7 separate regions of the Homo sapiens genome follow, and all the other regions are linked to region 1. The links are contacts of gene promoters, found by promoter capture Hi-C in blood cells and fetal thymus (Javierre and others, 2016). All regions are on one chromosome and are shown on one strand. The core of a region is centred on a gene start or on the middle of the fragment in contact, and the rest is flanking DNA. Distances in the headings are between cores, read along the strand shown.

Region 1 (3,997 bases), core at 1,271-3,770:
AATGATAGCAAGGAGAGGTGGAGATTTGCTTGTTCTCAGAGGAGGAAACACCTATTTTTCTACTGTGAAAGAAGGAGAAATAACTCGGTCTGAAAAAAGAGGTGCTTTCTTGAAATGGTTTCCGCTGGATTCCCCATTATTTTAGATATGATGGGAGCTGGAGTTGTGCAGAATATTTTGGGACGCTTTCCGCATGGATTTATGATCCTCAAAAAGAATCGGCATCAATTAAACTATAGTTGACCCTTGAACAGTATGGGGGTCAGGGGGACGGACCCCCACACAGTAGAAAATTAATGTATAATTTCGACTCCTCATAAACTTAACTGCTAATACCCTACTGTTGATTAGAAGCATTACTGATAATATAAAAACAGTTGATTAACACATATTTGGTATGTTCTACATATTACATACTGTATTCTTAAAATAAAGTAAGCTAGAGAAAAGAAAATGTTAAGAAAATCATAAGGAAGATAAATATACTTACTGTTTATTAAGTGGAAGTGGATCATCAGAAAGGCTTTCATCCTCATCGTCTTCACATTGAGTGGGCTGAAGCGGAGGAAGAGGAGGGGTTAGTCTTGCTCTGTTAGGGGTGGCAGAGGAGGAAGAAAATCCATGCAAAAGCGGATCCTCGCAGTTCAAACCCCTGTTGTTCAAGGGTCAACCGCACAATCAGGTTTTGATGAGAAGACTCAGTTTTCAAACTTGATTTTAAGCAGGTATATATCCGGGTACTCAAATTCGGATGTAATATTACATAGAACTTAAACACTCCTAGTTAAGCAGAAATAGAAAAACCCAGTTACCTAAGTAGAAATCAACCTATGGGAGGAAAGCTCAGGAAAGAGCCAGGGTCCTGGCATAATAAAGAGTATAGGCATGATATATGTTTGTGTTTATACGTGTATATCTGTTGTTTGGAAATAAAGAGCAAATTGAGTATTGGATTAAGGGAAACCTTTCTTGTTTCCCATGAGAGAGCCGTCCTTTGAGCATCACATTTGCAAAGGTAGATTGATTATCCGGATCCACTTCCAGTGGGTTTTGTGGCAAGCCGAGACATCTATTGACAGCATCCATAGACTCTTCAGAGCTTGGAGTGGAAAGGACCTTGAACTTAGAACACATGCACATTTATTATGTGATTGAAGTCGTCTTCTCTCACTTTTGCTTCAGTAAACACTTAAACAAAGCCATGTACTTTGCGGTAGGCAATGTTCTATATTTATTAAATATACAGTTAACTCATCCAATCCATTGCAACCACCTTATAAGGGCGTTACTCTAATTCTCTCCATTTGATGGATGGATAACTGAGGCTAGGAGATAAACTGCTCATTGCGGGGGAGGTGAAATTCCAGCCCAGGCTGTCCGGGCTCTAGATCCTGTACTTTTAACCAATAGCGCTTTGCTTCTTTTCCTTGTATTTATCCCTTTCAAAAATGATTAACTGTATGCAAAATAAGATATCAACTAACGAGAGGGCCGGCAAGGGTTAACGCGGAAACAGATCCCCGAGCTGAAAAAACAAAAACAAACTGGGGAGCCAGAGCCCCTGAAAGCTCCGGTAGGAAATTCAATGGGCCTCCTGTTCCTTTAAACTCTCGCTTTCGCCCCCGCTGACACTTTGCAAAGCCGCGGCGGCAGCGGCGGGGACCACGCTGCGGTGCACCACCTTCCGCCACCCTCCCGCGCTGGGCTGGGGTCGAGGGGGCTTCGCAGAGTCGGTAACCGAACCGGCTCTGGTTTGCTTTCTCCACTCCCTAGCCACTACCAGAACCAGCCTCCGCGAAGGGGCGAGCTGTGGTTAACCCTTTCGTGCCCAGGGAGACCCCGCCAGGGTCGGGGCGGGGCGCGATCGCCCCCCGCAGTCGGGCGCGAAGGCGGCCCGGGAGCCAGGTGGGTGTGGGGCGCAGTTGGCGGAGCTGCCCAGGGCGTGCGAGCAGGCTGCGAGGATGGCGCCCCGGCGGCGCGGAGGTACCGCCCCGCGCTCCCCCGATAGCTCCCCGGCCTGTCCCCTCTCCCCGCGCTCTGGGGCAGCCGGCTGCCTGGGGCGCACGGGGCTGGAGTGGCCCTCTCCCTCCCCTTCGCTAGGCTCCCCCGGCTTAATCTGTTGGCCGCGACTCCTCAGCCAGCCCCGAGGAAAGTGCAGCCATTGGACAGGTCTGTGCGGGCTGCCGGTTTCAGGGAGGAAGGTGGGAGAAGCCTGGAGGAGCGAAGGGGAGGGCGGAGGGAGGAGGGAGGAGGGTGCGGCGGCAGATCTGGCAAATTGCGAGCTGCCTTCCCTCCTCAAAGTGTGGAGAAGGAGCGCGGGGGAGCGTGGCGACGGCAGCGCCTCCTCCGCCACCAAACTCCTGGGGCTCCGCGGGGGCTTGGGGCCACCTCCTCCTGAGCCCGGAGGAACCCTCTCCCGATAGGTTCCAGCGTGACTCCCTCCCACTCCACCCTTTTCCTTTCTTCTTCCTCTTTTTTTTTTTTTTTTTTAAACACATTTTTTTCCTGGCTTCGGACCTCAGACTGCTGCAGCCCTAACCTTCCCAGGGCTCAGCTCTTTGGAGCTGCCCATTCCTCCGGCTGCGAGAAAGGACGCGCGCCCTGCGTCGGGCGAAGAAAAGAAGCAAAACTTGTCGGGAGGGTTTCGTCATCAACCTCCTTCCCGCAAACCTAAACCTCCTGCCGGGGCCATCCCTAGACAGAGGAAAGTTCCTGCAGAGCCGACCAGCCCTAGTGGATCTGGGGCAGGCAGCGGCGCTGGCTGTGGAATTAGATCTGTTTTGAACCCAGTGGAGCGCATCGCTGGGGCTCGGAAGTCACCGTCCGCGGGCACCGGGTTGGCGCTGCCCGAGTGGAACCGACAGTTTGCGAGCCTCGGCTGCAAGTGGCCTCTCCTCCCCGCGGTTGTTGTTCAGTGTCGGGTGAGGGCTGCGAGTGTGGCAAGTTGCAAAGAGAGCCTCAGAGGTCCGAAGAGCGCTGCGCTCCTACTCGCGTTCGCTTCTTCCTCTTCTCGGTTCCCTACTGTGAAATCGCAGCGACATTTACAAAGGCCTCCGGGTCCTACCGAGACCGATCCGCAGCGTTTGGCCCGGTCGTGCCTATTGCATCGGGAGCCCCCGAGCACCGGCGAAGGACTGGCGGGTGGGGTAGGGAGGTGGCGGCGGCGGCATGGCGAGGTTCCCGAAGGCCGACCTGGCCGCTGCAGGAGTTATGTTACTTTGCCACTTCTTCACGGACCAGTTTCAGTTCGCCGATGGGAAACCCGGAGACCAAATCCTTGGTAAGTAAGATGCACTTTAGCTTGCTGATTTTGTGCGCAGCTGAAGACCTCTCTGGCACTCTCGTGCTCCCTACCCTCTCCCCCCAACATCACCTATCTGCCCTTGGGAAACTTATTGCAGTTGCTTTTCGGCTAAACTTAGGCTTCCCAAATGGGGAAAGAGGGTTATCAAGAGAAGGACGCCGGGGACTAGGGGTTTTCTTGAGGCTTTCGGGCTTACTTCACCTGGGCGGCAGGGGGTGGTACTGTCTCCCCAAAGTAGCCCAGGGAGGGCTTCAGTGTGAGAGCAAAGCTTCTTCCGTGGATACATCTCCTAGGACCTGGCATCTCCAGGCTGTGTGCTCTCCGGCTCCTCCTCCTTCCTCGCTGCTGGTTAAACTAAGCGTGTGTGGTATGGGGTGGGTGGGGGACGTTGTGAAAGCCAGGGATTGCAGGTCTCCCCTCTGCACGAGAAAATTCCCTGTGGCAGCACCTTCCTTCCCCTGGCGATCCCCACTAGCTCCGTCTAGTGACCTGGGCCAAGCGGGCGCTGGAAGGGGGGCGGGGTAAATGCGGCCGGCGCAGAGGTGGGGAGCAGGTGGGAAAGGTGGAGGCGGGCTCGCCTCTGGAGACCTACCCCTGCTCCCATTGTCCTCCGCCTGCCAGCTTCACAGACAGGCCTGAACGCGCAGAGAGTTCCTTGGAGTGCCCTGATTTTGTCCCCGAGAGGGCCCCCAA
Region 2 (3,854 bases), core at 814-3,313, 470 kb after region 1:
ACATCCCTAAACCAGACTTTACAAGTAGATAGGATCAACAATACTCTATCAATTTTCAACTCCAATTTTCTATTCTACTTAAAATGGGAACTAGAAACTGTTTGCCTGAAGAATGTGTCTGAAACATAATATATCACTGCATGTCTGTGCTGTAGACCTGTTAATTTTATCTGTGAGAAAAAAAGTTACTCAAAATTCTCCCTGACCTAAGAATACTTTCTAGTTCACTGCAGTCTTACTGACCAGATGCAACAGTTGAAGTTTGATTTCTCGACCCAATATTTCTATTGGGTTTTGAATTATTAATATCACTGTTTTGAGGTATTCAGAAACACCAGTGTATCAAAAAAGCATTTGCACTTTAGGTGTGTGTGGTGGTTATGTCATTTATTAGACCATCCCAGACATAAGACAATCAGGGAAATCAGAAAACTCCAGCCTCAAATGTGTCTATAATTTCCTGTTCTACCATTGTCATATCATAACATGGTATTACTTCTTAAGGTTTTGATTAAGTTGATCTAGCCTCAACTTAAATTGTAATACATCTGCCTAATTATTGTCTGGAATAACTTTTCAACCATCCAATGCCCACTGCTCTCACAATGATTATTGTAGAGAAGTAAAATGGTAATTATTCAAGTAAAGTCACATAATTTCTGGAGTCAGTTTTTCATAACAAGTTTATGGAATACATCATCATTGGCTTCTTCATAATATATTTATTATGAGTGACCAAATTTTGCCTGGAGGAGCAAAATGCTCAAAACTTGTTATTATAGGTTAATTTCCAGCTCACTGTTGACACTGAAAGATTCTGTGTTACTTTAAACCCAGGATAAAAGGCTGGAAAAAAAATTAAATGTAAGTCATAAACTAGTACTCAGCTTTTCCTAGTTTCTAAGGCTTATTAACATTTGCAAATTACTCAATAAATGTCTTTCATAATGGAATAACATAAAAGCTTTTGATTTGGCAGATAGTGATATTTTATTTATTTTCATTCTGGTTGAAAAAAATCTCAGTGGCTTCTCTTCATTCCACGAGAATTTTGATTTTTAACAGCAGTCTCTCTTTTTCTCAGCATTGCAAATATATATGTATATATACATTCATGACCAAAGTATCGCTTACTGACCATGCAGCTGTAAACCTTCTGTGCCTATCAAACAAATACATAGCATGAAACTAATTTTAGAAGTTTCATGGGGGAATTTTAGGGGAAAGTATAAACCTAAGAGTGAGTGAATGGAGATGATTCATGGAAAAAAAAATAAAAATCTAAATGTGCTATTAGGCAGAGTTATTAACTTCTTTTAGTTGTTGTTTGAGATGGGGTTTTGCTCTTGTTACCCAGGCTGGAGTGCAATGGCGTGATCTCGTCTCACTGCAACCTCCGCCTCCCAGGTTCAAGCGATTCTCCTGCCTCAGCCGCCCAAGTAGCTGGGATTACAGGCATATGCCACTACAGCCGGCTAATTTTGTATTTTTAGTAGAGACGGGGTTTCTCCATGCTGGTCAGGCTGGTCCCCAGCTCCCGACCTCAGGTGATCCGCCCACCTCCGCCTCCCAAAGTGCTGGAATTACAGGCCTGAGCCACCGTGCCTGGCCGAGTTATTAACTTCTTAAGAGCAATGTGCTAATAAATACTCATTGATGACCAGCTCAAATTTAGGTCATTCAGACATCCAGACACTGGGGCACATATTCTGCAAGCAATGCTGAGACCCCTGACATAGAGAAAGCAAAGGATATGCCTATGATTAGTCTAAAATGCAGCCATCACCCCCCATACCTCTTCTATGGCATTCATCCTAACATCATGGAGGCCTTTGTCCTAGAGAATTATGTGACTTGCCCTAGAGAATTAGTGAATGACCAAAAAGAGACTTTCCATTTATCTTCCTTTGACTTAAAAGGCATGAAAATAAGGCAAAAAAATCAATAAAATAATTTTCCTGAGGAAAGGTTAAGAGATGGCACTTTCCTTTCCGGGCCCAGAGCTGGATTTCTCTGAGATTTGACCATCTCAGGACTCAGACAGACTCCAGTGCTATTTTCTGGACATTTGTGGTGAAGCCTCAGCCACCATGTTCAAGGTGGTTTGAATGAAAACATACTCAGATTGTCACATTTATAGCAGGGAAATAAAAACTCAAATTAGGCATCCTGCAGCAGGCTACTCTGAAAATAACATTAGGCAACATCAGAGCTTCACTTGCAAAGAAATGTTAAAATCATTTTAGGGAAATCAGTGAAGTCTCTTTAGAAACAGACATCTTGTGTATGGCGTAACCCAGTCTTGGGGCCCTCACGGAGAAGAGGGGGAAGTCTTTTCATTGATTGGTCAAAACAAATCTCTCATTTGCCTGATTTGAAGCATTTCAACAGTGCCTGGAGAGTACATTATTTTCAGGGGAAAAAAAGGAGAGAGTCTTTTTTATATGCCAGCTGGGATCATGGGAACTTCGAATGCCAGGAATTTACTACTGTTTCTGGTAATTCTGTGTGTAGTCATTTGAAATGTTGAAGTGTGAAAAGAGAAGAAATTGGGCACTTCTTGCGGCGGGGGAGGGGGGGGGGGCGGTGGCTTTCCAGATTTTATGCCAGTTGCACCAGCATGCAGAATATTTGTAATGCATTTCAAAGTGGATATAATGGCACCCTTTGTCAGAATCACAAAGCTCACTGCGGCACTGCTACAAGAGGACACTGAGGAAAATCTGGCCCTATGAACCTAGTCAACCCCAAGCAAAAAGAATGACTATGTGTGTGAGTGCAGCACATGGCCAGTTCGTTTCTCACTGTTTTGGAAAGCCCTGTGTGCCAAACCAAGGACGTGTCTTTCAGGGAAAGGTTAATTTTCCGAAGTTTATTAAAATAGAACTTGGAAAACCAAGCATTTTGAATTTATTCCAGTCCTCTGGGCATCATTCCTATTTCTTCTGCCATGTCAAGGAGAAATTCCAAGCCTGCATTCTGTCATGCTAAAATAACCAGCCCATACTTCTCGGTGACCTTCTGTTGAACGTACCTGAGCCTGCAAATGTAAAAATGATTGTATCTGAATCTGCACTAATGGTGTCTGAGAGCAAAAAGAGTGTGACCTCTATTGGAAACCTTTGTTCAAATTCAATAATTCAGAGATGCTACATACTTCTGCAAGCTTCCTGATTATGTTCACTGTAATATTAATGACCTAAGTTTGAATGTATTTCCTTACAGTCCATTAATTTGACATCCATCTTTTACCTGGGGATTATTACAATTGCAATAAGTCATTAATGTTTTCTTCACACAGCTTCTTAAACCAAGTTTCTCTGCAGCTCTTTCGGTTCTGCTTACAGTGTGTGGGAAATCTGATTTTTTTCCCCTAGTAATAGTTTGATAAGAAATTTAGTGTATTGACTGCCTCAGTGACACAATTTATCTTTAAAGGTGTGGAAGCTGGTGGGGACCAAATGTTACCTGTGTTTTTGCTGTTGATTGCTATTTTCAGAAGCAAACCATGTTTTTCACTTACAGTAGGAGTCAACAAATTTGGGATTTTAGAAGGGGGAGGAGGGAGCTATTTGTGTAAGACTGCTGTCATATTTGACTACATATTAAAAACAGTAAATGAGCATTTTGTTTTAATTTCTTAAATACCTTGTCTTTCAACATACGTTTTGTTTCCTTTCTTCCATTAGTGTTCAAAAGGTTCTACCCATTGTGGAAGAAATTCTGTGTGCAGAATTCAGAGGCACAAGGCTGATGGCAAGATAGAAAGTTATTTTGCTTCTAAACCCACCCCGATGTGGAAACTGATACTAGCTAGAGGGAGCTGTAGAAAACAAAGATTTCAGGATTGCACA
Region 3 (3,773 bases), core at 634-3,133, 450 kb after region 1:
ATGACATAAATCATTCTCTTGTGTTGTTTCTTAATCATGTGATTAAATATGGAGTAAAGCACACAATTACTTTAGGATAGAAAATAACTCACCATTAACCATTCCTAGGGTCACTGCTGATTAGACCTTAACTTGCCAGATTTCTTGAGCTTCACTTAGAAATACACTGGCACTCCAGACACAAGTAACTTGACAAGAACAATTTCTTAAGGAACACAGCCAGTCTGTTGTAGGGAGGCAGCACTAACTCACATTCAACTTTCATTAGAATATTTATGACCAGTGCAGCACTATCTTGTCTTTTAACTCAGTCACCAGGCAGCGGTGAACTGGCTTGTTTTCACACCTTCTGCAAAGTACTTTTCTTTAGAGTAGATTGCCTAATAGCAAATTATTACATGATTTGGGTAGAAAATAACCACTTGTGGCAATGTGGCTCAAAAAATAAAGATATGCTGCTTAAAGCATTATTAACATATTATGAACTAAGGCTAATGCTGAAGAAGATTAGAATATTCTTAGCTGGTATCACAGAAAATTAGTCAAAACCAAAGAATCTGTGCAGTATACTCTGCTAGAGTCTCTTACATTTACAGGGGGGTATAACTAAGGTAAACATACATTCCACTTTGCCAAGAACTATTCTGTATATGTCTGTTGTCTGATATAATTATTAATAGTTTCTCCATTTATTCTCAAAAGTGTCCTGATTTGGACAATAAATCATATGCTCATCCTATGTGTAATTATATTTTCCAGCTTAGTATGCATCTAAAGACAGAGGACACAAAAATTTTAAGGCCAAACAGCCACATAAGAATTCAGTAATAATGAAAGGAACATCAAAGATATGATCAATATTGAATAAAGGATTCCGTCAAATGCTATAAAATACTTAGAGAGAGAGAATCAGGAGGAATCTCATTAAAGACATGGTATTTGTGCAGGGTTTTGAAAGGGTGCTATGTTCTGGCTAAGCAGAGAGGAAGGGGAGATACCTTTTCAGATGGAATGGGGATATATTATGATTTTAAAAACATATCAAGAAAGGTCAAGATGAATCAACTTATTTAACTATGTGTTAATATCTATGGGCAAATATTGAAAATGGCTTTACTATAGATGGAAGATATGGTAGGCTTTGAAGGACAAACCACAGAAGCTAACTATCATTCTACAAGCAGCGAGAATCAGTGATGTAATAAAGAAGTAGGTGTTTGGGCCTGGCATGATGGCTCACACCTGTGATCCCAACACTTTGGGAGGCAGAGGCAGGTGGATCACTTGAGGTCAGGAGTTCGAGACCAGCCTGGCCAACATGGTGAAATCCCGTTTCTATTAAAAATACAATAATTAGCCAGGCATGGTTGTGCGTGCTTGTAGTCCCAGCTTCTTGGGAGGCTGAGGCAGGAGAATCTCTTGAACCCAGGAGGTGGAGGTTGCAGTGAGCTGAGATCACACCACTGCACTACATCCTAGGCAACAGAGACAGGCTCCATCAAAAAATAAAATAAAATAAAATAAAATAAAATAAAATAAAAAAGAAGTGGGAGTTTAAAATGGTTGTGGGGAAGGAGTAGAGAGTGAGCCAGAAGAAGAGTGAAATGATGGTCCCAAGGGAGTTAGAAGACTATTGGTAGTCTATACGTGAAGTGGTTGCTGAGAGCTGAATTGGGGTATTTATAGAGGGACAAGAATGAGGCTAATACAGGAGCCATGTGAAGGAAGAGGGTAGAATTTAGCAATCTTTGTTTGCGTAAAGGTTTATATGTGAAAGGGTTTTCAATCAGTTATATTCGATTCCCAGTACTCCCCAGTGAGCTCAGTAAATATAGAATTGTTAGATCCCTGTTTTACGGTTAGGATGACTGAGATTCCAAGAAAGTAAGCAATTTCTGAACGTTTCCTATATCAAATTAGTGGTAAAGGTGAGGAGGATGCCCTGATTCATTACATTGAATATGTAGGATGAAGAAGGATCAAAGATAACTTCAAAGTCCAGAATCTGAGCAACTGAGAAATTGAATTTTCTTTTCTTTTTTTTTTGAGACAGAGTTTTGCTCTTGTTGCTCAGGCTGGAGTGCAATGGCATGGTCTTGGCTCACTGCAATCTCCGCCTGCCAGGTTCAGGTGATTCTCCTGCCTCAAACTCCCAATTAGCTGGGATTACAGGCACCTGCCACCACACCCTGCTAATTTTTGTATTTTTAGTAGAGACGGGGTTTCACCATGTTGGCCTCAGGTAATCTGCCTGCCTCAGCCTCCCAAAGTGCTGGAATTACAGGTGTGAGCCATCGTGCCCTGCCGAAATTGAATTTTCTAATGACAGAATTAAAAACATCAGAAGGCTTAGTTTAGGAAGGAAAGTGACAGGATGGATTTTAGGCAGGTTTGGTTTGAGCTGATGGTCAAGAAATTGGGTATCTTAAAAAAAAAAAACTGGAAAAAAAAAAGGAATGGATATGGGTAAACAATCAGGTGAGAAAATATGGAACTAGTAGTAGAAGTTGAAACCCAAGAGAATAAAGAGTTGGGTCTTGTCAACACGAAACCTTAGGACGTGTTGACAGTTAATGTTGATGAATCAGAAAAGGGGACCGTTTAAGACAAAAAACAGACACACACACACACACACACACACACACACACAAACAGAGCAAGATGCAAGAAAATATACCATCCTAGAAAGCCACAAAACGGAAAGCGTCAAGATTGAAGAGACAGGCAGCAGTGTAAAGTGCTCTAGAGGAGTCACAGAAGATGTTGACAGCTAAGTCATTGATAACCTTAGAGAATGCAGTTTTAAAGCGGGGAGCAGGCACTGAGGGTGAAAAATGGTTTTGTACCATGAAGGCAATTGATGGGGCCAGACATTTCAGAGAGATATAGTATTGAGAGTTCAAAGAAACATCAAGTAAACGCTTTTTCCTGATGTTTGGTGAAAAGAATTCAACAAGAGAAGAGTAAATGAATCACTGACTTTCCAATGGAAATTAGAGTGTGATTCTTTGACACTGGGTGAACCTGAACATGTGACTTTTTTCTCCACTAGTTGGTTCTGTTTAGGATCTGGAATAGAAAAATATAGAAGATAAGGATCTGTGCTGAGGACTGGGGAAACTTACCCAGAATTGATGGTCAGATAAAGGAGAGAACAGACAGTAAGCTGACTGAAGAGGCCCTCTATGGAATGCAGGCTGGCAGGAAGTTAAGTGAAGCCTGGGTGAACTACAGAGGCTAATTAGATGTGATCTTCCACCATAGTGCAGTGCCATGTAATAGCCAGGCTCTGGAGGTAGCAGCTTCGAGGTGAGGTAGGAGAAATGTAGAAGGGATGGAAGTGGATATTACGCTGACTCTCAAATCTCATTGGTTAGCTCCCGTTCAAGTTTTTATGTACAAATATATTATTTTCCCTATAAATAAGATAAATGCCTTATCTTTAGTACTGTTTTACATAAAGTTGTGCAAATACTAATTTTATCGGATGACTGAATGCATTATCACACAGTCATGCTCGGTTTGAACAACAAAGTGGCCAATAGTGGGAAGGGTGCAGGGCTGCTGGTGTCAGAGCAAGAGGGCTACAGGGGAAGGGCCCTTTTTCAGGGGATGTAGCTTTTTAAAAAGATTTGGGAACACTTGGAGGATTTGCTAAAATGAGCCTCAGAAGGAAAATTGGTTTTCTAACCTGTGGCTTTTTGAAATGAATTATTCCTTTCAGTCTTTATTTTTCAAAGAAACAATGTGTATTGAAGTACCTAGATTTGTTT
Region 4 (4,077 bases), core at 431-2,930, 400 kb before region 1:
AAATCATTTGGTGGTTTCCCATAACCACAGAGGATGAACTCAACCATTTCAGTATGCACACCCTTCTCCAGCTAACCGCCTTCCTTTCCACATCTCCATCCTTTGCCACCTGACTCCCACGTGATCTATATACCCTTGTCTTTTAATACCTTCATTTCCCTTAACTCATGATCCTTTACACTTTCCTGGTTTAAAACATGGTCCTCTTAAAATGATTTTCCTTATTCTCATTCTCCTTCTCCTCCTTCTTCTTCATCTTCTTTCTTTCTTTCTTTGTTTTGTTTGTTTTGTTTGTTTGTTTGAGACTGAGTCTCATTCTGTCACCCAGGCTGGAGTGCAGTGGCACGATCTCAGCTCACTGTAACCTCCACCTCCCGGGTTCAAGTGATTCTCCTGTATCAGCCCCCTGAGTAGCCATGACTACAGGTGCATGCCACCATGCCCAGCAAATTTAATTTTTTTGTTGTTGTTATTAGAGATGGGGTTGCACTGTCTCTACTAAAAAGAGTAGTTGGCCAGGCTGGTCTCAAACTCCTGGCCTCAGGTAGTCTGCTGGCCTCTGCCTCCCAAAGTGCTGGGATTACAGATGTGAGCCACCATGCCCGGCTGATTTTCCTTCTTTCAAATGGAAAAATCCTTTTACTCGTCAAATCCCATTCAGTATTACCGCTTCTCTGAAACATTCCAGCCCAAAACAGTGATCACTGCAATATATTCATACTTTAATTGTAGTAGTTGTAGTATTGTATTTTACAGCTATCTTTTCCAATAGACTCTGAACTCCTGAATAGTCGTCAACTTTTCTTATTCGTAAAGCTTAGAACCAGGCATGATAAATGTTTATTGAATGGATCAATAAACTAAATACTATCCTACTATTAGGAAAGGAAAAAAATAAAAAGAAGACATAAAGTGTCACTCACTGTCCTCTATTAAATAGAAAGATCAAAGTGTTATATGTAAAGTTTTGGTGCCGCAAAATAAATGGCACTGGAATATAAAATTTTCTTTTTAATTCTCAGCAAGGCAAGATACTTCTATAGAAGGTTGCACCCTTACAGAGGGAGCAGTGGAGCGCACACTTGGACAAGGGAGGGGAAGGGGTTCTTATGCCTGACACTCGTGGCCCCTGCTGCTCTGTCGTTCCCCTGTCGGCTAGGGTTAGACTGAGCAGGCTAAACTAATTATGATTGGCTCATTTAAAGAGAATGACGGGGTGAGTGGTTTGGCAGGAAAAATGTTTATGACAGAGCAGGTAATCGGAATGAGTCAGGGTGGAGTAGGTAATCGGAATGAGTCAGGGTGGAGCCGGTAATCGAAAAACGTTGCTGTATGAAGAAGTTAAGTTTAAAAGTAGAAGGCAAAGAATTGAACATACTGACATATTGATTCTTTGAAAAGAAATTTAGAACTTATATCTAACAAAAGTTATCTTCATAAGGAAAAACAATCATGTATTTGTTTCCATGGAATCACTATTCCCTACATCTAATATGAAAAACAGAGGAATAAGTTTTATCTTAAAGTCATGTCTATATTTAACTAATGCTCATCAGTGATTCATGCTCTGGGTAACAAGCCATTTAATCAAGTTGCAACTAGATAAGGAACATGTTATTTTTAAATCCTTATTATTGTGTCTTTTAGAGTCTTTTGTGCACATACCCTCTGCCTGGATCAGAGCTTTGTCTCCCATGCTGCAAAGCAATATTGTAAAATTTAAAAAATGCATTTGACTTACAGAAACTTCCAGGGATAGATACACAATAAATGCAGTGCACAGGGGTAGCAACGTCATCAGAGGCTCACAGCCTCCCTCAAATGGGCAACTCCAAAGTGGGGAAGGCTGTGAAACCATCCTCACCACTGGAATCAGAAGGGTGCATTTCATTTTTTATGGAAACAGGGCTACTTGTCTCTTTTGAGTTGCCATTCATTTTGACTTTGTTCACATAGACTTCCCTGAGTACCCTCTCTTACACTTGCAAAATGACTCTACCCTTGGTTGATCATGGGATTTGAATGATAAAGATGAATATTCCCAAGGATATGTGGGGCACAGAGTGTGGGGTAATGGGAGAGATCTTGCTCTGTAATCAGCCACCTTAAAGGGTTAGTGCCCCCTTCAAATCAGCCAAAACAACAATACCTGATGTCTTTTCCTGTCTCTGAAGATGCTTTTGATGCATCTGTTTGTGTGTGTATGTGTATGTGTGCATGTTTGTGCACACTTTCATCCTAGAATTTGTTAAATGCTATGTTTTAGAAACTCTGCCAGTGACACCAGGATTTGAACCCTGGCTTTCCAATGCGCTCTGATTCTAAGCACTGACATTCCAATGCTAGCTTTGGAGATGAATGGAGAAAGTCACTAACTTAAGTAGGGAATAACAAGTAACTGTGGGAAAAGATGGGCAATCTTAAAAGGGATTATTTATAATTTCTGGTTAGAGGCTGCAGTGAAGTAAGTATGAGGCATTACAGATACCAAGTCCTGTAATTACTGTGCCCCTAGATAATTATGCCCCAGTTAGAGAATGTTTAAAAGCTTTACACACTAAAGAGTATGAGAAACACATTTCATTATTGCAAATTTTGCTAAATGCATCAATAATTAATGGCTGCACTAGTCAACGTATCCCATATCTTCTAGTCATGTTAATAAGGTTAAAAACATCATTTGTGTTTTTCCCACTATCATAGTATTGGATTGTCAGCAGCTCATAAAGGTGATTTTTACAATTAATCGTCTTTCTCTCCACTTTTCAGAGGCAGATTGCTATTGCCTTTTTTCCCCTGGCCAGTAAAGGGTTAAACCCTCTACTTGAAAGACATGTTGAGAGTTTGGCTTAGATGCAGAGATTTTGAAGATCAGAGCCAAAGTGAGTGTGTTTGTGCCAAGAAGGATGGAAGGAGCATATGACTGGACCCATCTGTAGCAAATTGCCTTTGATGATGCAACAAAAAATAATTAAAACACAACAAAGAATAATGAATGATCCCAGTAATGAGCAGAATCCTCTGGAAGACTGATAAAGATGCTAGTGCAGAAAAACAGCATTTTTTCCAGGAAGACATTTTCAAAAGGAAACCACATTGATTTAACCTTTAGAAAGTCTTACTGCTTTTATTAGTTTCCATTTAAATCATGCTCTTTTCTAACCTCATGTTGGCATTACTAGTAGTTAGTAAAATTTTCTGTGAAGCCCTGAGATGGAATGCCACTTTGCAGTACCTTTGCAATTTTATGATCAATAAAATACCTTTGTGTCAGAACACAGTAATCAATGTATGAGAAATACATTTCAAACAAAACAATAACAAAGCTATTGGTGAGAAAATATCTTTTAGATGTTAAAAATGTCACATATAGAGAGTAAACACAGAAAAACATAGAGTAACCAGAAGACTTACAACATTTGCATCAGTCATGGTATAAAACCTGAAGGCTAGTTAGACAAAATGTAAGAGAGGATATAAGGATAGTAAAGATAATTATTACTCTGTATTGTTTGTGCATAGAGTAGTAATCGCTTTCTGGCCCCAGAGATACAGATTTAGAGTGAAATTGAACAAATGAGAATTGCATTTTTATACTTCATGATTAGATGTAGAATACCCTCGACCTATGGTTTGCTGGAACTATGTAAAGTAATTACTATATTATATCATTTTCTAAGCCAGATTTCACCTTCTGTCTAGAATTTTTTCCTGAAGTTTATTTTGTCTGAGTTTTCATTTCCCCCTCAATGGGGAAAGTTTTTGAAGCCTCACTAATTAGGCTGGAAATTTCAATGACAAAAAGTGCTAAATAATGATAGCATTTTCATTTTTGGCTCTTCTGTTTCAAGTATGCCTCCAAGAGAAGCAGTTTGGGCCTGCACTCTGTTTCTATCTCACTTCAGGGCAATCCCATCAGTAAGTAGGCTCTGGTATCTCTTGTACTGCTCATATCTACTGTTCTCCTACGAAGCGAGATTCTTAAGCCCTTGCAGTGCTCACCATAGATTTATGGCTTCCTGTCCTATGCTGTCAGGTTGGAGGATGCCTTTAGAATTGAAAGTCTGATATTAACCA
Region 5 (4,407 bases), core at 1,012-3,511, 410 kb after region 1:
CTTAGGAAATGCACACAGATGGCTTCCACAAAGTAGCTCTAAATGCACTTTCCATTTGCCATCAGCAAAATAATTGACCACCTCCCTTTGGTGGATACCTACTTTCCTTTCAGTGTCCGCCTCCTGTCTCATTTTCTACCTGCCCTGTTCCTATCAGAAACCCGGACCAGGGAACCTTCTACTGGAGGAAAGAAACTTCCATATACCATTAGATTTTGGAATCTGAGATATATGAGGGGCCCCAGGAACAGGTTTTGTGTTACCCAATATTTCCAATGCCCCTTCTCGGTGTGTTCTACATGTGTAAAGTGATTATTCTTTTTTAAACGTGAAATGTCTAGTTATTGTAGTAGATGGCCCTATACCACTAAAATATGTATGTCACTAAAACATCAATTAACTTTGATGCTGAATTGATTTGACTTGGTTTGATTTGCTCGGGAAACATTTCTTCAACTATTGTGTACCAGGCCCATTGTTAGGTGATGCAGATGCAAAGATCTACATGGTCTGATGCCTGTCCTAAAGAAGCAAGTGGCCTAAGGGGATGACATAGAGAAGTAAATTGATATTTACGTATAGTGTGAAGAGTGCAAAGATAGAGTCAAGAAAAACTATATAAGAACAGAGAAGGGGTATCTAAACAAAAATGAAATTACAAGAATAGGTGATACTTGATCCAAGTTTTGAAGTATGGGCAGGATTTCTGAGGAAAGGGAGAGAAGAAAAGAATTTCAGGAAGGGGATTGACATAGAAAGAGGTTCAGAAGCATGAAACATCAAGATCTGGTTGGATAACTCTAAAGAGCTGCCAGATTTGATTTTCCTGGGGTAAAGTTATATACATAGTGCTTTAAGGCTGGTGAGGCTGAGAAGGTGGGCTTGTTTCTCAACCTCACCAGCCATAAAGTATCAGAATAAGTGGAGTGTCAGCATTCATAGTCTTTTACGCCAGGCAATGGGGTTTGAACTTTAACCTAGAGATCTTGGGAACCGTTTGTGTCATTTTGACAAGGGAGTGTCAGGACACATTTTACATGTTTAGTAGTTGACCCTTGAAGTATTGCAGGGAACAGGAGGGACAGGAGTAAGACTGAGAGGCCAGAAAATCTAGTTAGGAGGTTATACTAGTAATCCATAGAAGCAATGGTCAGAGGCTAAAAAAAAGTAGTAGTTGACCATGGGAATAAAAAAAGAGAATGCACAAGAGAAGTATTTACTAATGAAGTAGAAGCTACATGAGCTAATATTTGATTGGATGTGTGATTTACGTCATAGGAAAGTGACGAAGGTGGTTCCCAGGACATGGGCGTAAGTTATCTGGGTGGACAGTGGTGCCATTGAATAGGAAATACAGGAAGAGAAAGGGGGTAAGCAGTGAATTTAATTTGAGCATGTTGATGTTGATATCTAAATGAAAATGTCAGTAGGCATTTTTCTATATAAGCCTGAAATTAACTTGAGAAATATAACCATAAGATACAAATTTAGGCATCAGCAGCGTATAAATGACAGTTGAAGTTAAGGAGATGAATTAGGTATGGGAAGATAGTATAAAGATGAAAAGAGTGACTAGGCACGGTGGCTCACGCCTGTAATCCCAGCACTTTGGGAGGCTGAGCTGGGTGGATCACCTGAGCCCAGGAGCTTGAGACTAGCCTGGGCAACACAGGGAAACCCTGTCTCTACAAAAAAATACATAAATTAGCAAGACATGGTGGCACACACCTGTAGTCCTAACTACTGGGGAGGCTGAGGTGGGAGGATTGCTTGAGACTGGGAGGTCAAGGCTGCAGTGAGCCATGATTGCACCACTGCACTCCAGCCTAGGTGACAGTGAGTCTTCAAAAAAAAATTAAAAAATAAGAAAAAAGGCAGGAAGGCAGGAAGGAAGGAAGGAAGGAGGAAAGAAGGAAGGAAGGGCGGAAGGGAGGGAGGAAACAAGGAAGGAAAGAAGGAAGCAGGAAGGAAGGAAGGAAGGGAGGGAGGGCCAAAGACTAGAGAGGGAATACAGGATTTAAAGTCCTGTGAATAAAATCAAGAGTGTCATAGAGACAGCAAGAAAACAGAAAAGTTTGGTATCACAGAAACCAAAAGAGAATAAAATTTCAAGGAGGAAGTAGTGAACAGTGTCAATGCTGCAGACAAGTCAAGTTAAAAAAAACACACACAGAAAAGTGACCATGAGAGTTGGTGGCATAAAGACATTTGTTGATCTTGACTGGATTGCATAACAGTCCACCATTGTACAATCTCCAGGCAGAATTTGAGGATTCTGTGGACAGTGAGGAAATTGGAGTCCACAAGGACAGACTGCTTTTTCAAGAAAAATGGAAGAAGGGAAGTAGAGATTCTTAATGCTGTTGTTTACCTGTCACAGGTGCTGAGGAGAAAGACCCCATAAGAAGAAAAAGAGTCAAAAGATGACTGGGAGTGAAGTGATATATCCACAAGCATGGGTGGAGCCAATCAGCATGAATGAGGGAAGGGAGACAGGAGGGAGAAATTGAGGGGGTTTCATCTAAGATTGCTCTTTTCTCCATATAGTAAGACACAAGTAATATGGTGAGAGTGAGTGGGAAGAGGGCAGAGGTCATGGTGTTTAGGAGTTGAAAGACCCATAAAACATGAAACAGGAATGGGAAGGAAGCCAACTGCTGATGTGTAAAAGGCCCATCAGGTTGTGTTTGCAGCCTCCTAAACTTGGTAGCATTCCTTGAGGTTGTATGATTTCAACACTGAATTTTGTTCACGTGTGCTTGAATTAGCCATGCGTATTACTCACGTAATATGCTGATCCACTTTAAGCAAAAAAAAAAAAAAAAAAAAGGAATTGATGTTGATGGTTGATGGAGAGAAAAGATATGCTAGTCTCAAAATGGCATAATGCTTTAAAGAGAGTAGTTTAATCCATTAGATGGTAAATTTAGTTAATCTTCTTCGAAACAGCTAGGTTTTCAATGGTTTGCTCCTCCCGTTAAGACTAATTTTTGCTTTAGTTTTATTCTTCAGAGCTCGAATTATTATTTGTGCAAGATTTTTAATGTAACTTGAGTACTAAGGACAGCAGTTAATTATCTGAAACTAATTTGTAACAGTTTTGTAAGCTACTGTGACCGAATGTTATTTCAGTTACAGTAATAAATTAACAACTTGTTGGATAAAGTGTCAGCCATAAGTGATTTTTAACACAGTTAACATACTCACCAGCCACTAAAGAAAAAAAATGCAAAAACATACAGCTCAAAATTCATTGGAGGAATTTAAATGGAATTCTAAGAAATATTTGTTTAACCTGAAAAAGACAAGAAAGAAGGAACAAAGGACCATATAACAGATGAACACAAAGAAAATGAATAGCTAAATGGCAGACCAAATACAAACATACTAGTAACTATTTCAAATGTAAATAAAATAAACACTTTCATTAAAAGCATAGGCTATCACACTGACTTTTAAGAAAGCCAGATCCAACTCTATGCTGTGTATAAGAAATGTATGTGAAAAATAAAGACAAAGATATAAAATACTTCAAGGTAAAATTATAGAAAAATATGTACACTGCAAATATAACCACAGAAAAGCTGGAATGCCTATATAAATATCAAATTAAGTAGGCTTAAATTAGATTTAAAGACAAGGAGAATTAACAGAGGAAAATATGAAAAGGAAAAAAAGGTGCCAGGCATAGTGTCTCATGCTTGTAATCCCAGCAATCTGCGGGGCCGAGGAGGGCAGATTGTTTGGTCCCAGGAGTTTGAGACCAGCCTGGGCACCATGGTGAAACCCCATCTCTACTAAAAATACAAAAAAATTAGCCGAGCATGGTGGCGTGCACTTGTAGTCCCAGCTACATGGGAGGCTGAGGTGGGAGGATCTCCTGAGCCCAGGAGGTCCAGGCTGCAGTGAGTCATGGTCACACCAGTTCACACCATGGTGAGCGCATGGTCACACCAGCCTGGGCTACAGAGTGAGACCTTGTCTCAAAAAAAAAAAAAAAAAAAAACAGGAAAACAGTGTCATTTCATTAGGAACCATTATAATTTTTTTAAGTTAGACAAAAAAAAAAAATTAAGAAGGATATATATTTGAACAATACTGACAACCACTTTGTCATAATCCAGCAGTGTCCCTGGAGGGTTTTTTTTTTCAAGTTCACATGAAACGGTCACCAAAGTAGACCATATGTTGAGTCATAAAAAATATTAAATTTCTAGATTGTGGTCTTATAGACTACACTCTTTGACTGCAAAAGAATCAAACGAGAAGCAGTAACAATATAATGTCTATTGATAAGAAAGTAGATCTTAAATGTTCTCACCACACACAAAAATGATAAGTATATGAGGTGAATAGATATGTTAATTACCTTGGTTTAATCATTCCACAATGTATATATATAACAAA
Region 6 (3,950 bases), core at 960-3,459, 410 kb before region 1:
ATATTTAGCTTTAATTTAACTTCGTAATCATTTCTTTTGGGTAACTTCTAACATAATGTATTTAAATTAAATGTTATGTACCAAATTATATATGGAAATTAGCAGTTTGTATAAACACAAATAATAGGAAGTAATCGAATTGAAAACTAATCCAAAACTGCTTTTTGAATGGCAGAAGGAAAACAATTGAAAAATGAAATCCTTAAATATTATTTGAATGACCTTAACTTTTAATTTTTTCTTGATATGAGAAAACAAATTTCAACTTAGTTGCTAGATATTCATTCAGACATTGACATTATTTTCTTTGCAGCAATGGACATAAGGATAGGTAAAATAACTTTTGTAGAATTAACAAAATATAAATTTTTAATTTAATTCTCGTGGCTCAAGTTCACACAAGATCACAGAGAATAAAGCATAAAAAGCATTAACACAACAGTCAGTGGCAGCCAACAGGCACACACTGGCCACCTCTAGTGATACGACTTTAAGATTGATCAAACAATCAAAAGAGAGTTATTTAATCAAAACAATCTATTTGCCAACATTTTGTAGCATTTGTCTTGTGTACTTTTTATGTAATTTTGAAGAACTCTAATACCACTCATGTTGATACTTAAGAAAACATGATACTTACATAAACCCAACAAGAATAATTAAATATTGAAGAATGAGACTTACATGTAACACTGAGCTTTGGAAAGCCAAAAACTACGTGATATCTAAAATTCTGCTCCCTCAAAACCAATTTTTGTCCCCTTGGGGGCAATATTGGCCCCTCTTAACAATGCATGTTATACCCTCTACTTTTTCTCCAAGTCCCACCTGTCAGTCTCTGAGAATGCTCTTTCTTCTGGGAAGGCCATCGTTCTTTATCTTTTGAGAGAGCAAGTTGTCAAACTTAACACAATCACCAAACTTGAGTCCCAGAGATTGAGACCATCATGGGCAACGTAGCAAGACCCCATGATATGGTTTGGCTGTTTCCCCACCCAAATCTCACCTTGAATTGTAATAATCCCCATGTGTCAATAACGGGGCCAGGTGGAGATCATTGAATCACGGGGGTGATTTCCCCTGTACTGTTCTCTTGGTAGTGAGTAACTCTCAGGAGATCCAGTGGTTTTATAAATCGGAGCACAAGCTCTCCTGCCTGCCACCATGTAAAACATGACTTTGCTCCTCACTTACCTTCAGCCATGACTGTGAGGCCTCCCCAGCCATGTGGAACTGTGAGTCAATTAAACTTCTTTCCTTTATAAATTACCCACTCTTGGGTATGTCTTTATTAGCAGCATGAGAACAGACTAATATACCCTATCTCCAAAAAAATGAATAAAATAAAATAGTTATTCCCTTAAAATCTTTCTTAATAAGCCAGGGTAACCACATATTATTAATACACATGTGTCTTCCATGCTCTTATTTGTGCCTTTTTCTTATCCATGCCTTTGTTAAATCCATATCTTTTTCTACATTTGGAATGCTTGTCTCCCTCCATCCTTCCCCCACCAAACACACACATGTAGATTTTGACATAACCAAATCCTGAACATCTTCCTAGATCCAGATTGAATATTTTCCCTTCTGCGTCTTGTCACTTACTACCACTACCTTGAAAGTCAGATGTAGGCACAATTTAGTTTTGTGTCCTCCGTAATAAATGGCTCATTGTAGACTCATATAATGTTAGAAAAAAATAAGACATTTATAGTGCTTAAAGAAGCTTAACTATAAACAAGGAGAAAAATATGTGAACCTATAATAATAATTTACAAAGTGGAAGATTTAGGGGAAATTGGAAGCTGATGATGGAATTATCTATGCAGTCTAAAAAGAATTTATGTTTTCCAAAAAAAAAGTCTAGTTTTGTAGTCCTGATTTAAAACCCTTACATCATATTGTGAATATTATGCCTCCATGAATAAAAAATAGAAGCCATAAAAGTGGACTTGGATGAATTACTATTATTTTTATAAATTAGACCATCTGGTTATGAATTTACTTTATGAATTAGACCATATGTATTAGGGTTTTGCCATTAAAAATTCCATGAATGACTCATTGAGGACTTTGTTATAGGTTACAAATGCTGATACATTTTATTTTCCATTCACAATGTGGCATTTAATATATCCACATATAATCATTGAGCATTGCTTTGCCCTCTTTTATGCTAACGTGTTGGTGACAAGAAAGCAGACTTAGTTTTTCAGACTTATGAGCTGAGGGATCATTATTCTGAGTGCTAGCAATTGAAGTGACTTAGAGACTTAAGGTTAAAAAGAAGGGTAAAATAATATTTTTATGTGAATTCATGGCTTTCTTTTCATCAGCATTCATGAGCCCTAAGGATTTTACAGGTCATATTTTTAATGAGTTATCTTGACTCTTTTTGACTTCACTGGGGGTCATTCAGCAAATAAAATCGTACCAAAGTTAGAGCTGCATATGGCTCCTGAATGATGAAAGAATGGTGAGAATATTCTTTAGTCTTTTTAGCGTTTGTTTCTAAGTTATTTTTCAGAAAATCCCCAAATTATAAGGCAGAACATTGAAATTAATTACTTTGGTGGCTTCATTAGAATCGGAGCTGAATTTTCTTGGTAGTCAAAAGAATATAAAACATAAGAAAACATGTATTGTGAAAAGCAGAAAATAATACTTCAAATGGCATTAAACACGTTAAGCTTTTTACTAAGCAATTTTGTTTCTTGTGAGGTTTTTAAAAAATGTCTAAGCAGAAGATAAACTAAAAATATAGTAAAGCTTAGAGAAAAAAATACTTTTTATTTTGTTTTTCCATTTGAACACAAAATACAATGGGAGCATATAAGTAAAACTTTTACAATTTACTATGTTTCCTTAGATGTAGGGAGATTGTGAACAGTTTTATTTTTATAGATAGATGGTTTGCAGTGATTTCAGAATGCACTTATGCTTTTTTTATTATTACTTTATCCATGTAGTAATAAACATCATTAGGAAAAAATCTCGTACAATAATTTTAAGCAGATATCTCCGTACTTAAAATTTTTTTATGCCTTGTAGAATGATTAAGGGCAGAGTGTTGACCTGGAACTACAGATAATTTATCTTTGACTAAGATGTAGTATATTCTATTTCATATTAGAAGTTTCTGATGTATGTTGCTCCCTTGAAAATCTTCCACTTATTTTCCTGTAAACTTCCAAGCCACAAATATATGTGTTTTTTTCTAAGTAGCTTCAGCACTGTTAAATATTTTAGAAAATTTTATTAATGTAAATATAGCCAGATCATTGAGTAGGAAAACAATCAATGGTGGCAAATAAGTGACATATCCATAATAGAGTCACTTTGTTTTCCTAGACCTCTGGGGAAGTGATTGTTTTATATCACTTCACTCATTTTGCACACACATACTGCACATTACTTAAAATTCTGTTTCTGAAATAATTTGTTTAAAAAATAGCACTCCAGAAAATTTCTGTTAAATTTAATAACTTCAATGTGAACACCTGGATCAGAATCATTATACATAACAGAGTACTGGATATATCCATTTGCATCTTCTCATATATGGTGAGCTCTGAAAATATACGAAATTCTATGCACAGAGAAGAGAAAGCAAATGTACTAGTTGCTTTTCCTTGTAACTTCTTATAAATGCATCCATGAAAATGCATGTCCTTTGTATATTCATGAAGAGAAGTAGCACTTTATTTAGTAGGTTTTTCATGACAACAAAAAAACCTGTGAAAGGCAGAATTTGTGAAAATAATCAAACTTAGAAATGAGGCATTGAAATGAAGTGGTGTTTTGCATATATACACGTTACCTCAACTTTCTAAATATTTCTTAATTTGGTAAGAATGCGTCAACATCTTATTTGTTATTTTGCATGAAGGAAGTTAGAACTACTGGTAGAATGTAGAAGGAGAAATATGAACAAAATTATTACCTTT
Region 7 (4,144 bases), core at 849-3,348, 430 kb after region 1:
GTCCAGTATGCGCATGATTTATTCTGCCCTGCAAGACTTGTAAGTGCCTTAAGATTTGGATTAAATCACTTACATTTCCTTTGAAAAATAGGGATTCTGCCAATATTTCCTGGAAAAACGTTCATAATAAATATCCTAGGACATTTCAGACTTCCAGTGAAATTTCATATAAAATGTATTTCAGAAATGGCATCTTCATTTGATATCAGTAATTGAGATATTATCACGCATTGCCTTGAATTGGAAATCTGTTATTAAGTTCTGTTAATGTGCTTCGTTTTCTTGGAAGAAAGTAGACAACCTTCTCAAAGTTACAAATGCATTCTTCAAAGAGCTGCTGAGTGACAAGCTAGAAAGCCTCAGGGACTAGCCAGACCTCAGGCTGCTGCTACTGCCGTAACCCCTCACACGTTTAAGCCTTTTCAAACTGTGCAGTTTATTTTCTGACATGGTGAAAAAGAAGACACTGAAATATCTGATGGTGATGGTATTAGCAGCAAATTGCATAGTATGAAAGATCTAGTTAAAGCTGGTTCAAAGGAACCCCTGTATGACTGCAAAATAGTGGAATATTGTTTTGAGTATTAGTCTCATTGTCTTATGTCTCAGAGCCTGTATGTCCATAGGTGTGGAGTGTTTACATGTGTATACGTACACATGTATTTATAGAATATTAGAGCTAGATGGAATCTTAGAGATAATTTAGTTCTATACTCTCCTAACACAAAAGGAGAGACTGAGTGAGGCTCAGAAGAGTGGAATGACTTATCCAAGGTCAAAGAGTCATAGTTCTAAGAATAACTCTTTCTTCTTTTCACATGTAAGTGAAGCAGATTCATTCAGCAGGTCTCCCAGCTTTTCTCCGCTTGGCTTTTTTTCCTTCCTGTGGAGTCAGTTGCCAGAGTCTGCTTAAATCACTACCTATCTGACATGCTGCTGGGGTCATGCGGCTCACAGTGGCTGGTAAGCAGCTGATTTTTGGAGGTGATAATCATAAATTTACTATTATTAAAACTGACCACTGTTTACAAAATCAAAACAGATCCACAATGACCATGGTTTGTGATATGCAGACGCGTGGATTTAAGATTTTTGAATTATTAGCTACATTAGAATTGTTGTTGCATAAATGAGGGAACTGAATATAACAACATTCTTTTCTTGCCTTTTATGTTCCATATTATATTCCTATCTACTTTTGAAGTGAAATTGATGTGCTTTCTTCTTTTATGAAAGTGATACCATTCTTTGTAGGAAATTGAGACAATGCAGAAATGTAAAAGGAAGAAGAAACGCCATTTATAGTTCCAGCATGCAGAAATGATGACTATTAATAGTTTAATTTATTTTCTTCTGGAATTTTTATGTACATAATTTGATGTTTGCCCATTTAACACAGTGGTGATTTCACTGTAATACAAATAGGTATTCTTTTTTAAAGAACATTTTTCTGTTTTATTATGATGGCTTTGTAAACATCATTTTAATGTTTGTATTCTATTCTATTCAACATTCATTCAATAGCTTTATATTGACTGCCTCTTATGCAGTCAAGTGGTAACTCGGAATGCACTGAGAGCCTAACATGTGCCTAGAAGTCAAAAAGGACCTCTTTTCATTCAGATGAAGACTGTGTGTTAGTTTTCTACTGCTGTTGTAACAAATTGCCACAAACCTAGTTACTTAAAATAACACACACTTGTCTTACAGCTCTGGAAGTCAGAAGTGCTAAAATCAGGATATGGACAGGGCTGGTTCCTTCGGGAGGCTTCAGGGGATAATCGTTTCCTTGCCATTTTCAGCTTCCACATGCCGCATGTGTTCCTTGGCTCATGGTTTCTTCTCATATCATTCCAACTTCTGTTCCCACCGTCACATCTCCTACCACTAACGTTGACCCTCCAGCCTCCTTTTTGTAAGGCCCCCTTGTGACTACATTGGGCTCACCTGGGTAATCTAGGATACTCTCTGCATCTCAAGGTCCTTAACTGAACCACATCTGCAAAGTTCCTTTTTACCGTGTAAGGTAACATTGACACCTTTTGGAGATTAGGACATGGACATCTTTGGGAGGCCATTATTCTGTTGAGCACAGAGTGCATCAAATGTGAGATGCATCACACGCTTCCAATTAAACTCTAACACACCCTTGACTGCAAGATATGTCCCAGTTTCAATTATATTAAAATGTAACCCAATGGATATCTTGAGTATTTCACAGTGAAATCCAGGCTTCACTAAACACTTGTATGAGTTAGTTCCTGTGCTAAACAGCGTATATAATATGGTGAAATTGAATGATGCTAGGCCGGGAGCGGTGGCTCACGCCTCTAATCCCAGCACTTTGGGAGGCCAAGGCGGGCAGATCACTTGAGGTCCGGAGTTCGAGACCAGTTTGACCAACATGGTGAAACCCCATCTCTACTAAAAATACAAAAATTAGCCAGGCATGGTGGTACGTGCCTGTAATCCCAGGTACTCGGGAGGCTGAGGCAGGAAAATCATTTGAACCTGGGAGGTGGAGGTTGTAGTGAGCCAAGATCACACCACTGCACTGGTCGCAGCCTGGGCAATCGAGTGAGATCCTGTTTCAAAAAAAAAAAAAAAAAAAAATTCATGACTCTATCCTTGAGTGTATATATCAGAGCTCATGCACCCAGTCTCCTATTGCAGAGCAATGGTGCTCTTCCTACTTTTTCTTATTTTTAATCTTCCCCATTATAAACATATTAATAGTAACAGCCAACATTTATCAAATTCACTAATAAAGTGATTGACACTTATTACCTCATTTAATCCTCATGAAGACTGTGTGTGTTACAAAGATTATCTTCATCTCATAGACGAGGAGGCTGAAGCACGGGCCTTAAGTAAGTTCTCAACATCACGCATTTGGTCAGTAGTGGAGTCAGGATTTAAGCCCAGGCTCTCCAACTCCAGAGACTATGCCCATAACCACCAGGCTGTGCTGCCTCTGTATGTATAAAGAGTTTTTCTTCATATGCTGTATGTAGAAATGCAGGCTGATATACATGCAAGGACATACATTATGTCCTTGGAACAGATTTCCAGAAGTAGAATCAAAGGAAAGAAATGAATGGTATAAAAGAACTTAGTAAATATTGCCAAAAGCATGACACCAATTCATGTAGCTGTTGCTATTGTTGTCTATTTTTAGTGATGATAATGTCAGTGGCTGTTATCTGTGTATTTTTTTCTTGCAGAAAATATACACCAGTTATTATACATTTTGTGGACACCAACACTCTTCCTTATATAAAATACTTACATGGGCTTTAGCTTTTAGATTTCTTACTGTAAAAAGGAAATGAGATAATTAAGCAAATCATCACTCCATAAACAAGTGAATTAACTGTATACATCCCATGTCTTCTTATACAAGATTAGGTACAAGAGTTCCATTCTCCTAAAACATTCCATTTCTATTCAGTCAAGCAGAATAGCCTATTTTTTTTATTAACTTATCTTCTATATTGCTCCATCATTCTCAGATCTTAGACTGGGCAGTTTCTTCAACTGACTGGCTTGCATTTCAAGTTATGTGTCTAGCTTTTCACAGTAATTTTCTAAAGGTTGTCTGATTTTGGTGAAAATCTATCACATTATGTACAAGAATGTCTACATATGCTTTAAGTTTTTTTAAAAAAATGAAATTTATTATCTTGAAACAAAATAGCAGAGAATACATATTTAAGTAAGCATGAATTCCTTAATTTTTAAAAGATCTTGATGAAACTAGTATCTTTTTGGAAGGGTCAATATATCTAGGTTCTACATTAAATTTAATGATTGTTCAACATTGCTAGGCATAAATTTTGTGACTTGTAATATATTTTATTGTTTCATGAACATAGGTCACGGAGATAAATGTTTACACTCTTGAGTGGTATTCTACACATATCACTATTCAAGATTTTTAAATAAAATACATAAAATGTAATCTAACTGAAGGTCAAGAAAATAATATTACAAAGTGATAATCATACAAAATCAACATTCCTATGAAAGGATTCTATTTGGACTATAACGAAATAGTTTAGACTAGCCATCTTGCTGAAAGTATTAATGTTGAACATTGTCCTTAATTTTTCTTAGTATACATAAATAATTGCTAGTATTTGGA

Evidence for each region. The method cuts DNA at HindIII sites, captures the fragments that hold promoters and counts their contacts. A CHiCAGO score of 5 or more calls a contact.
Region 2: a contact is called between a fragment that was not itself captured here and the fragment with the promoter of PLXDC2 in region 1, in 1 of 17 cell types (monocytes). The highest score is 5.1, in monocytes.
Region 3: a contact is called between a fragment that was not itself captured here and the fragment with the promoter of PLXDC2 in region 1, in 3 of 17 cell types (neutrophils, M2 macrophages and monocytes). The highest score is 6.8, in neutrophils.
Region 4: a contact is called between a fragment that was not itself captured here and the fragment with the promoter of PLXDC2 in region 1, in 1 of 17 cell types (megakaryocytes). The highest score is 7.6, in megakaryocytes.
Region 5: a fragment that was not itself captured here is called in contact with the fragment with the promoter of PLXDC2 in region 1 in 2 of 17 cell types (neutrophils and M2 macrophages); the score reaches 6.0 in neutrophils.
Region 6: a contact is called between a fragment that was not itself captured here and the fragment with the promoter of PLXDC2 in region 1, in 1 of 17 cell types (megakaryocytes). The highest score is 10.1, in megakaryocytes.
Region 7: a contact is called between a fragment that was not itself captured here and the fragment with the promoter of PLXDC2 in region 1, in 3 of 17 cell types (M2 macrophages, neutrophils and monocytes). The highest score is 6.5, in M2 macrophages.

Annotation. Positions count from the first base shown.
Region 1 is chr10:19,813,912-19,817,908 of GRCh38, forward strand. It overlaps PLXDC2 (plexin domain containing 2), which reads left to right and starts at 2,521. Exons shown (of 14, transcript NM_032812.9): 1 at 2,521-3,280. The coding sequence starts at 3,169. LOC124902388 (a long non-coding RNA gene) reads right to left here and starts at 2,317. Exons shown (of 2, transcript XR_007062078.1): 1 at 491-2,317. RefSeq lists an enhancer at 1,445-2,210. The HindIII fragment of the contact is 8,470 bases long and covers 1-3,570 here.
Region 2 is chr10:20,285,413-20,289,266 of GRCh38, forward strand. PLXDC2 (plexin domain containing 2) reads left to right here. Exons shown (of 14, transcript NM_032812.9): 14 at 1-3,854. Among named protein-coding and RNA genes, the nearest start is that of MIR4675, 260 kb to the right of the region's middle. The HindIII fragment of the contact is 2,202 bases long and covers 963-3,164 here.
Region 3 is chr10:20,268,516-20,272,288 of GRCh38, forward strand. The region is part of intron 13 of PLXDC2 (plexin domain containing 2); the gene reads left to right. Among named protein-coding and RNA genes, the nearest start is that of MIR4675, 280 kb to the right of the region's middle. The HindIII fragment of the contact is 4,857 bases long and covers 1-3,773 here.
Region 4 is chr10:19,419,012-19,423,088 of GRCh38, forward strand. The region is part of intron 28 of MALRD1 (MAM and LDL receptor class A domain containing 1); the gene reads left to right. Among named protein-coding and RNA genes, the nearest start is that of MALRD1-AS1, 310 kb to the right of the region's middle. The HindIII fragment of the contact is 1,732 bases long and covers 815-2,546 here.
Region 5 is chr10:20,226,709-20,231,115 of GRCh38, forward strand. All of the region lies in intron 12 of PLXDC2 (plexin domain containing 2), which reads left to right. Among named protein-coding and RNA genes, the nearest start is that of MIR4675, 320 kb to the right of the region's middle. The HindIII fragment of the contact is 5,349 bases long and covers 1-4,407 here.
Region 6 is chr10:19,401,310-19,405,259 of GRCh38, forward strand. All of the region lies in intron 28 of MALRD1 (MAM and LDL receptor class A domain containing 1), which reads left to right. Among named protein-coding and RNA genes, the nearest start is that of MALRD1-AS1, 330 kb to the right of the region's middle. The HindIII fragment of the contact is 964 bases long and covers 1,728-2,691 here.
Region 7 is chr10:20,247,680-20,251,823 of GRCh38, forward strand. The region is part of intron 13 of PLXDC2 (plexin domain containing 2); the gene reads left to right. Among named protein-coding and RNA genes, the nearest start is that of MIR4675, 300 kb to the right of the region's middle. The HindIII fragment of the contact is 4,441 bases long and covers 1-4,144 here.